Linked DNA regions of Homo sapiens: region 1 is linked to region 2. The links are contacts of gene promoters, found by promoter capture Hi-C in blood cells and fetal thymus (Javierre and others, 2016). All regions are on one chromosome and are shown on one strand. Each heading gives the region's core, a stretch centred on a gene start or on the middle of the fragment in contact. The rest is flanking DNA. Distances are from core to core; before and after follow the strand shown. Region 1 overlaps LOC105371269 (a long non-coding RNA gene). Region 2 holds the start of MMP2 (matrix metallopeptidase 2).

Region 1 (5,585 bases), core at 988-3,487, 1.9 Mb before region 2:
ATGGGATATACTAAAAATAAACATCATTCCTTGTTTATCTGAAATACAAATTTAAGTGGACATCCTATATTTTTATTAGCTAAACTGGCAATCCTGGCCTGCAATAAGAATGGCAATAAATGCTTCTTTAAGTGTTCAGAGCTTGACATCTTCTGAAGCATTGAAGGATTTCATGGTGATTAACTTAACATTTCCCAAACTTGCCAATGATCACCCAATCATAAGAATCAGCTGGGAGCCTTATAAAACTATAGATGCCCAGCCGGCATGCTGGCTTACACCTGTAATCCCAGTACTTTGGGAGGCCGAGGCGGGTGAATCGCCTGAGGTCAGGAGTTCGAGACCAGCCTGGCCAACATGATGAAACCCCATCTCTACTAAAAAATACAAAAAATTAGCTGGGCGTCGTGGCGGGTGCCTGTAATCCCAGCTACTCGGGAGGCTGAGGCAGGAGAATCACTTGAACCTGGGAGGCAGAGGTTGCAGCAAGCCGAGATTGTGCCACTGCATTCCAGGCTGGCCAACAAGAGCGAAACTCCATCTCAAAATAAATAAATAAAACTACAGATGCCCAGGCCCATCCTACAATTACTTATTCAGTAAGACCAGGGTTTAGGCTGGAAGTCTGTATTTGGACAAGTTTCCCAGGTGCTTCTTGGCATCAGAAAAGTCTGGAAAACACTGCAAATATTGCAAATATCTCTTGTCTTGTCACTGCATCCCTGAGAAGCAAGTGGTGATGGGGTTTGAGAGTTGGGGCAAAATTATTAACTTTCACTTCCAGCTGGGGAAATAATGGCTTAGAAAAGTGCTCAGCTGTATTTGTAACTTGGACCGACTGAAATGCCAGCCTCAAAATATTTTATTTCATTGCCACATAAAGTAAAAGATCATATGGTTAAGAGATGGACAGACAGGAGGCATCTGACCCTGTAAGTTACTTCTATCAGCATAATTATGATCTTTGCTGTGTTGTCTGGTGTGCTCAAGGGTCCCACTGTGAGCTATTAAAGAATGAGGTATTGATTACCTCTGCCTTGGGTTTTTTATCTGCAGTAAGGAGATCCTCCCTGCCTCAAGCTTTCTCCATGTTTTTAACCCTGGAACAAAAAAAATAGAGTGCGGTGGACCAAAAACCCATGAGAAGTTCCATCCATCAGTGCATGGAGGGTGGAGGGAAGGTGCTATGCAGGTGAGCAACTCTGTCCCCTGGCGGCCACTTTAGCCCCTGTCCCATTGAACATCCATGGGCCCCAGACACACAGGGAAGGCGGGGACAAGTAGGAAAAACAGAACTCCCAAGACAGTCATTTGCACTCTCAGCATGACACACGTGCATTAAAGGGAAACTGCAAGGATGTCAGGGTGATGAGAACATTCAATACAAACAGAGAGGCCCCAGGGTTATGTCCACCCTCCCCCACTCTGCGCAGTTACTGCCAGGGCAGGAAAACTGGGTTTCAAGTCAACAATTTGTCTCCTTCTCCTGAGAGGTGTTTGCCTGCAGAAAGATGAATCAGAGAAAAGATTGAGGTCTGATTTCACCCTCCATGTTCTGCCTTACCATGGCCAAGCACGCAAGGGAACACATGGTGGGAAATTGTTTCTTCCCAAGAGACTCCAGCCTCTAGTAGGAGCCCTGCTGCTGGTTCCCCTTATGCAGTTGAGTGTCTTCTTGCTCTCTAACAACTAAGGCAGTCACATTTTACTTCTGTAGTTAAGTCACCCTCTTTTAAAATGATCACTGAGCCAGTAGGCAGAAAGGCAGCTTACACCCACCTCTTACCGTGACCATGACCTTGGGCAGCCCTTGTCTCTGCCTCAACTTCCAATAACGCTAGTTACATTAGGTGCTAACTTTATGGGATTCTCTGCCGACATTCTTCCTTTGTGTGTGACTGATGGGACATTGTCTACTAGGCACACAGTAAAATCAAAGCTTCTCTTTCCAAAATTAACCCAAAACTGACTTTTGCTGTGCAATCATACTCTTGTAAAATCTGCTTTTCATATCCCTTGAGTTGTTGCCACAACTCTATATAAACATATGGAAAATGTTTCAGTTCCAAAGAAAAAAGCTCAAGTCTTCCCTAAGTCAGTGTATTGAGTCCTTAGACCACATCTCACATCTGAGAGGGGCCAGGGTTTTTTCTAACACCCACTGGATGTAGTTACCACAGCTCTGTGACCTCAGAGGAACCCAGCTTCACCTTATAAGACATGGAGGAGAGGAAAGGGCAAAGTATCTGTGGGCACAAACTGTGGACAGAATGTGGGAACAGGAAAAATAAGCCAGGGGTGATATTAACCATGACAAGTGGTGAGGTTTGGGTGATGAAGATACATTAAAATAATCCTGTCTTTCTTAATCTCCTGAGCCCTTGGTAATGCTCTATTGACTAAATACTTACCAGGTTAAAAACATGTCTTGCTTCCTGCTTTCCTGGAGGCACTCCAGTCTAAATCATCTACAAGGTAAAGAATTTATCAAAAACCATTCTGATAACTTTGACTACCTCCAGCTGGGATGCCCTGCAAAGCTTCCCGAACACCAAGGATCACCACTTACCATCACACTCTTTCTGGAACTGTGAATGCTCTGGGCTCCTGAAGTTAGATTTTGGTTTCAGATGCGATGTTAAATTCTAGGAGGTTGACCCTGGATGGCAACTTGATATATGTCTCAGAGGCCTTGAAGGTACATGCCCTCTTTGATCCAGAAGTTCCAGAGCTAAGAGTGTATCTTAAGAAATGTCATCAGTACAAACCTTATCATTGTTAAAAGTCAGTAATCATGTGTGGCATAAGTAAATTATGGTATGCTCATATGAAAGAATACTCTGTAGCCATTCAAAATCATATAGAGGAATATGCAGTGACATGAAAGAAAGTTCCTCTCCTATGGGTTAATGAAAATTATAGTACCATGTAAAGTTAACAGTGGTCATCTTTGGTTGATAGGATTATAACTGAGATTTTTAAATTCCTTTTTGTCTTGTTTTCCAAATTTTCTGCACAAAGCAAATATTATTTATTTATTTTCAGCGACAGGGTCTTGCTCTGTTGCCCAGGCTGGAGTGCAGTGGTGTGATCATAGCTCACTACAATCTTGAACTCCTGGGCTCAAGCAATCCTTCCGCCTCAGCCTCCCAAATAGCTGGGACTACAGGCATGTGCCATCACACCCAGCTATTTAAAAATATTTTTTGGTAGAGACAGGGTCTTACTATGTTGCCTGGGCTGATCTCAAACTCCTGGGCTAAAGGGATCCTCCCACCCAAACCTCCCAAAGTGTTGGGATTACAGGCATGAGCCACTGCACCCAGGCTGTTGGTGCAGTGGTGTGATCTTGGCTCACTGCAGCCTCAACCTCCCAGGCTCAAGCGATCCGCCCACCTCAGCCTCCCAAGTAGTTGGGACTACAGGTGTGCGCCACCACACATGGCTAATTTTTGTATTTTTGTAGAGATGGGGCTCTCCCGATGTTGCCCAGGAAGGTCTTGAACTACTGGGTGCAAGCAATCTGCCCACCTCGATCCCCGAAAATGCTGGGATTACCGCACCTGACTTCAGCTGGTAACTTTTTAAGTAGGAAAAAACTAATTCCACTTCTGAGTAGGAAAAAAATAATAGAACAGGATAAAAATCTTACTGGCCTTTATGGGACTGACTTCCAGCTTCCACTTTGTCATGAAAAGATTCTATGTTCCTTGTGTTTCTAACTTGTCCCAAACACTATATTCACAGGTTGTCTCGGTTCTTCCTCTCTCACTATTCCTGTGGAAATGTTCCAGACATAAAGGACAAGTAGCAAAAATACCCTCTGATGAGTAAATAATAGGATGCATTCAGATCTGACTTAATTATTGCACTTAACACAGAGCCAGACACGCAGTAGGTGCTAATTAGCTGTTGAATGAATGAAAGAAAATGCAATCTTAGTATTTTAAGGGCTTTTATTTTTTCCATTGTTAAAATAGGGAAAATGTGTTAAAAAAAAAAAAGACATTTAACTCAATTCATAACAAACAGTGGTTTAAAATAGAAATTCCAAACCAATTTTGGCTAAAAGGATGCTAGTATATTCTGAACAGCTGCTGTTGTAGACACAGTCTGAAATAAATAACTTCCAGTGTGGTTCCAAGTCTGTGTTGAATAAACAGCACAGATACAGGAACGAGCTTTATTAGCGTTAATTGCAATGAGTCTGCGCAGCTCAAAGGCCGGATTCTTGCTCACGGCGAAATCTAGCAGTGATGATCCTTCCTCCGGCTGTAGATGGAGCCATAACATTACTAAATACGATCCCAGCACGTGCGTTGGGGGTTTTGTGCTGTAAAAGCCAGATGTTTGGAACTTTTCTGGCTTTAGTTTCTGAGTGTGAACAACCAGAAAACTCAGACCTCTATTTTCTCTGACGCTGACTGGGCTTGGAGAAGCCAAGAGACTCGCTGGGGTGGCTTCAGCTTTCATTCTCCCAGCAATTATCACCTCCTCTCACCTTCTTCTCTGACAATTTCTCTGCTTGAGGGCATCCCGGGGCTGTCAGTCCTGCCTCAGCTGGTGACTTTGTTTAGAAAAATCAGACCTGAATCCAACTTTTCCTCCCATTCTCTTGCCTTCTTTTCACAAAAGCCACTCACAAGCAAGGCGCCTGGGGCTCTCCAGACTTCCTGGGCCAGAGAAGTTCAGGATGGGTTTTCACACCCACAAACGGGGGCCTCTGCGAGCTGGGCGGGCGCAAACTCCACTGTCTCCCCACATCTGTTCTTTCTCCCCCTTCCTGCTCCATCTCTCCTCTTTCTGCACCACCCCAACCTCCCTCACTTCTTTCTTCCCCGTCTCCTCCCTCTTCTCTTCCCCCCTCCTCCACACACACAGCCCTGTAGCCAGAGTCTTGAGACAAAGGCCGTTTCTACATGTGTCTCTGCATGACTCCCCACTGGCCTGCGGCATCTCATCGTGTCACTCCTTCCTCCAAAATATTCCACAGCTTCCTCCCTGCCCTCATTCTGGGGAAGTCCAACCTCCTTGGTTGAGGTTCTAGGGTATAGATCTCCCTTCTGCCTTCCCCAATCCCAGGCTGGGGAGATGAGGCCGACCCAAGCTACCCTGATGCTTCATGCCTCGGGTCCCATTCCTCCTCCACCAGCTGAGATTTTACTCATCTCCCGAGGCCAGGTTACATGCCCCTGCCTCCTTCAAGCAGCCCTCTTTGCTTGCCTCCGGTGGGAATTTCTTTCTCTCTCCTATGGAAGGACTTTGTGATGGCACTTGATGGCATTCTAGATTCGCCTTGGATTCTGATTACTTGGGTGCACATCTGGGTGATGAAATGACGATTTGAAGGTTTCCCCATATGTCCTTCTGCACTGCAGTCTTTCCCGTTCACTCAGCGCATTCTTGCGAGGCTCACTGTTACAAGAGAAGGGAGCAAGGAATTTATACCATGGACAAAGTCTTCTCTTCCCTGGCCTTGGAGCTGCCAAAGTGACTCCATATAGCTTTAGGTGACTGTGTGCCTTGAAAGAGGATGTCGGGCCTGGTGCAGTGGCTCACGCCTATAATTCCAGCACTTTGGGAGG
Region 2 (5,464 bases), core at 2,244-4,743:
GCAACTCCTTGGGTTGCAGGCATTGCTCCAATTTCTGCCTCCATGGTCACATGGAGTTCTTCTTGCTGTGTGTCTCTGTGTCCAAAGTTTTGTCTTCTTATCATGACAACAGGCTTTGGATTAGAGCCCACTCATCTTAACTTGATTGTATCTGCAAAGACCCTATTTCCATGTGAGGGCACAGTCACAGGCATTGGGACTTGAACATATCTTTTTGGCAACACAATTATATCCACTAAACAGCATTTTTGCATCTATATTAAGAATGACTAAAAGATGCTGCAGTAACAAACATATCCCAAAAGCTCCATGGTTCGTTGCCTAAGAGTTTGTTTTTCACTTACGAAGTCTGTAGTGGGTCTGGTTGCTTTCATTTTACGACTTTGCTAGATCAACACAGGGCTCCCAGGGTTACCGTGGCAGGGGAAGAGAGATATACAGGAGTGCACAGGGGCCCTGGAGCATATTGCATGTGCTCACCAACAAGCCCATTATCATCAGATACTGCCTGTTCTCTCCTCGTCCCCTGGGCCATTCTAGGCCCCAAGTGAGGGTTCTTGGATCTCACACAAGAAGGAATTTGAGGCAAGTCCATAAAGTGAAAGCAAGTTTATTAAGAAAGTAAGGGAATAAAAGAATGGCTATTTCATCGGCAGATCAGCCCCAAAAGCTGCTGGTTGCCCATTTTTATGGTTATTTCTTGATTATATGCTAAACAAGGGGTAAATTATTCATGCTTCTGCCTTTTAGGCCGTATAGGATAACTTCCTGACGTTGCCATGGCATATGTAAACAGTCGTGGCGCTGGTGGGAGTGTGGCAGTAAGGCTGACCAGAGGTTTTTCTCATCATCATCTTGGTTTTGGTGGGTCTTGGCCAGCTTCTTTACTGCAACCTGTTTTATCAGCAAGGTCTTTATGACCTGTATCTTGTGCCAGCCTCCTATCTCATTTCGTGATTAGGATTGCCTTAATTTACTGGTAATGCAGGCCAGCAGGTCTTAGTCTAACCCCTATTCAAGATGGAGTTGCTCTGGTTCCAATGCCTCTGACATAGTCATTGCTGGGCACAGAAGCCTCTCTCTCACTGAGTGCTGCTTCTGCAGCCATTGCCATCTCTGAATGGGCACCAAGCCCCACACTGGAAACCGATACCCTTGGAATGCCAAAACCACAGAGGCTGTGAAGAGGTACAGTCAAAGCTGCCCTCTGCCAGAGGAGCTCCAAAGCATGTTATGCAGACTCCAGAGACTTTCTGAAAAGGTTAAAACTCAAATTGGGCAAGTGTAAATGAACAACACCTAGTGAAGGGAGTCACATACAAGGCAATACAATAGAGAGTGGTGAGGACTGTGGCAAACCAAAGTATGTGCCTCATCTAAAGGGAGCAGTCACTACTCAACTTCAGCAAATTATTGCCATATGGAAACTGGCATCCAGTATTGCCAGATTTTTGGGAAATTTTTTTAAAAAAAGAAAACCAGAAAGTCAGATTTTTACATGAAGTTTCCCAAATTTCAAAATGCTGTTCAGGCTGGATTTAGCCCACAGGCCACGAGTTTGCAGCCCCTGCTTTAGTGAGATAACTTTTTCCATTTTCACTCTCAGCTCTCAGCTCTCCAACTTGGCTCTCTGGCTATCCACAGGACGTGGACATGAGCCCAGTGGGGCTGGGCCAGGAGGCAATCCCCCTTCCCAACTGACCTCAGTCTCGCCCTCTCCAAAACAGCCAAGGTTTGTCACTGGGTCAGGCTGAAGGGCCTGGCTCCCTCCTGCGGGGCAAGGTCCCTCCCAAGAGGGTCCTTTAAAACTGACTCTGGAAAGTCAGAGCACACACCCACCAGACAAGCCTGAACTTGTCTGAAGCCCACTGAGACCCAAGCCGCAGAGACTTTTCTAGCTGTGATGATCAAGACATAATCGTGACCTCCAATGCCCCCCACAAGTATATTGCTCCTGATTCTTTCAGCCCCTGACCTTACTTCTCAAACTGTTCCCTGCTGACCCCCAGTCCTATCTGCCCCCTTCCTAGGCTGGTCCTTACTGACCCCTCCAGCTCCATCCCCTCACCCTGTGCCCCACCTTTTTCAGATAGAAAAAACTTTCTTCTCCAGTGCCTCTTGCTGTTTTTCATCTCTGGGCCATTGTCAATGTTCCCTAAAACATTCCCCATATTCCCCACCCAGCACTCCACCTCTTTAGCTCTTCAGGTCTCAGCTCAGAAGTCACTTCTTCCAGGAAGCCTTCCTTGATTGTCTTTACTAGTTTAGGGGCTGAAGTCAGGCGTTCCCAACAGCCTGCTGGAGTTCCCCATCACAGCTTATCTCTCAACTGTCTTTCCTGAGAGAGGGAGAAGACATTCCTCAGAGACGGTTGTCACAGGGAGAACTTCAAAATTGGGATTCGACCTGAGAGGCCACATGGATTCTTGGCTTGGCGCAGGAAAGGATTCAAGAGTGAGTGGGGAATTCGTGGAACTGAGGGCTCCTCCCCTTTTTAGACCATATAGGGTAAACCTCCCCACATTGCCATGGCATTTATAAACTGCCATGGCACTGGTGGGTGCTTCCTTTAACATGCTAATGCATTATAATTAGCGTAAAATGAGCAGTGAGGATGACCAGAGGTCGCTTTCTTTGCCATCTTGGTTTTGGCTGGCTTCTTCACTGCATACTGTTTTATCAGTGGGGTCTTTGTGACCTCTATCTTATTAAACCAGTCTTGCCCAATTTCTATCTCATCCTGTGACCGAGAATGCGGACCCTCCTGGGAGTGCAGCCCAGCAGGTCTCAGCCTCATTTTACCCAGCCCCCTGTTCAAGATGGAGTCGCTCTGGTTCCAACGTCTCTAACGCGGGGCCCCTGACTGCTCTATTTCCCAAGGTGTATCTAGCATCTCGCACTATACGAGGCCAAGTTAAGGCTTACACATTTGCAGAAGGAAAGAGGTAAGGAAGCAACCTGGGACCTTCCACTGTCTCTGTTTCCATCTCTCTCTTTCCATCTCTGTTCATCCCAGAATCTCTCTGTCCCTATCCCTAAATATCGAAAATTTCTGTCTCTGACCATCTATCATTGTGGCTGATCATCTGTTTCTGACCATTCCTTCCCGTTCCTGACCCCAGGGAGTGCAGGGTGTCCTAGCCAAGCCGGCGTCCCTCCTAGTAGTACCGCTGCTCTCTAACCTCAGGACGTCAAGGGCCTAGAGCGACAGATGTTTCCCAGCAGGGGGTTCTGAGGCTGTGCGCCCAGATCGCGAGAGAGGCAAGTGGGGTGACGAGGTCGTGCACTGAGGGTGGACGTAGAGGCCAGGAGTAGCAGGCGGCCGGGGAAAAGAGGTGGAGAAAGGAAAAAAGAGGAGAAAAGTGGAGGAGGGCGAGTAGGGGGGTGGGGCAGAGAGGGGCGGGCCCGAGTGCGCCCCCCGCCCCCAGCCCCGCTCTGCCAGCTCCCTCCCAGCCCAGCCGGCTACATCTGGCGGCTGCCCTCCCTTGTTTCCGCTGCATCCAGACTTCCTCAGGCGGTGGCTGGAGGCTGCGCATCTGGGGCTTTAAACATACAAAGGGATTGCCAGGACCTGCGGCGGCGGCGGCGGCGGCGGGGGCTGGGGCGCGGGGGCCGGACCATGAGCCGCTGAGCCGGGCAAACCCCAGGCCACCGAGCCAGCGGACCCTCGGAGCGCAGCCCTGCGCCGCGGAGCAGGCTCCAACCAGGCGGCGAGGCGGCCACACGCACCGAGCCAGCGACCCCCGGGCGACGCGCGGGGCCAGGGAGCGCTACGATGGAGGCGCTAATGGCCCGGGGCGCGCTCACGGGTCCCCTGAGGGCGCTCTGTCTCCTGGGCTGCCTGCTGAGCCACGCCGCCGCCGCGCCGTCGCCCATCATCAAGTTCCCCGGCGATGTCGCCCCCAAAACGGACAAAGAGTTGGCAGTGGTGAGTTGCTGCGCTGGCCTCAAGGAACCACGTTTAGACAAACTTCGGAGGCAAAGGATGGGGGTGTCTCTCCCCCTGCCCTCGGCGGTGGGCACACAGCGTGGGGGAGGGGCTTCGGTAAACAGCTTGGGGGGTCTTTGGCAAGCTATTGGAGTGATCTCTTGCAAACGGTGGGGGATCTTTTGTAAGCAAAGAAAACCTTTGATAAACAATTTGGCAACCTTCAGCATACAGCAGTGGGGCGAAAAACAAGCCAGAGAGTGGGAGAGGGGTGACCTGGCAAACTACTGGAAAGGGACTCTTATGTAAATAGCGGGGACATCCTCTAGTATCTGGGACATTTGGCGGGGGGGGGGGGCGGTCTTTGTAAACAACTTTTGGACACATCTGGGCAGTTGCTAAGGGCTCTTGCCAAGCGTCTAGGTAAGCCTTTGGCAAACAGCTACAGGGGTCGTTTTTGCTAATGTAGGACTTTGGGAACGGTGCTCTGGCACACAATTTGGGTAAACTTATGCGCGCATAAGGATGGGAGGGAGCTTGGTCAAAGCGGGGCTTGGCAAATTTCTAGGAACCTTCGGCACAGATCCGGAGAGGGACCTTTAAACAAACAGCTCGAGGGGGCCATTTGGGAAGTGATTGGGGCAGGAGGGAAGCAGAGAGCGCATCTTTTTTCTCCTGGCTTAATGGACAAATTGGTCAAGGGCTGGGCCTCGGAAAGTTTCCTCGAACTTCTCCAAAGGGTCGGAGAAAAGAAGGAGAGAGCTGGCCCGGCAGGAGGGAGGAGGAGTGGGGCAGGCGCTGGAGGGCCCGGCGCGTGGGGCGGGGGCGGACTGCGCTCCGCTCGGGTCGGAGAGCGGCCAGAGAGCCCTCCTTCCTGGCTGGGCTCCCAAACCGCGGTTCAGATGTTGTCTTGTGAGCGTGCGCGCGCCTGGCTGGAGGGGCACTGAGCCTGGCCGCAGTGTTGCGTAAGTAGGGCCTGAGGAGAGAGGCAGGCCAGGGACCCATCAAGATGTCCTTTCCAGTCCAGGGGATATCTGCTCCCTTGTTGCTTCAGCCACCCTGCCCTCCAGCCTCCCCCTCAACCTGTCCGGGAGAAGACGCCCATGCCCTCTGGTCACCCTAGGAACTCCTTCAGGAGGTGACAACTACCCTCTCCCAACTCTCACCCTTCCAAACAGCTAGGTCTCAGCCCCCTCTGGATAGATGGGTTGGGAAACCTCCATACATTTTTAGAGGGCTACTTTTTTCAAGGATCTGGAGCTGGCTGGCATAATGATGTGGCTGTTGGGTGGGGGTGAGAGTGGAGCTTTGGGACAATGACAAAGCTACTTGGTTTCCTACACCTTTTCCAGCCAATGGGTCACAGGATGAACCCCTAAATTGGGGTTCAGCCTGGGGGCCACATGGGTTCTTGGCTTGCACAGGAAGGAATTCAAGAGCGAGCCAACAGAGTAAAGTGAAAACAAATTTATTAAGAAGGTAAAGGAATAAAAGGGTGATTATTCCATAGACAGAGCAGGGAATGGGCTGCTGGAC

Evidence for each region. The method cuts DNA at HindIII sites, captures the fragments that hold promoters and counts their contacts. A CHiCAGO score of 5 or more calls a contact.
Region 1: a contact is called between a fragment that was not itself captured here and the fragment with the promoter of MMP2 in region 2, in 1 of 17 cell types (total CD4 T cells). The highest score is 7.1, in total CD4 T cells.

The regions. Positions count from the first base shown.
Region 1 is chr16:53,545,855-53,551,439 of GRCh38, forward strand. LOC105371269 (a long non-coding RNA gene) reads right to left here. Exons shown (of 8, transcript XR_933588.4): 4 at 2,570-2,743; 5 at 2,412-2,468; 6 at 1,031-1,100. Among named protein-coding and RNA genes, the nearest start is that of AKTIP, 45 kb to the left of the region's middle. RefSeq lists an enhancer at 1,061-1,562 and a silencer at 1,120-1,299. The HindIII fragment of the contact is 601 bases long and covers 1,938-2,538 here.
Region 2 is chr16:55,475,705-55,481,168 of GRCh38, forward strand. MMP2 (matrix metallopeptidase 2) reads left to right here and starts at 3,494. Exons shown (of 13, transcript NM_004530.6): 1 at 3,494-3,928. The coding sequence starts at 3,776. The HindIII fragment of the contact is 12,132 bases long and covers 1-5,464 here.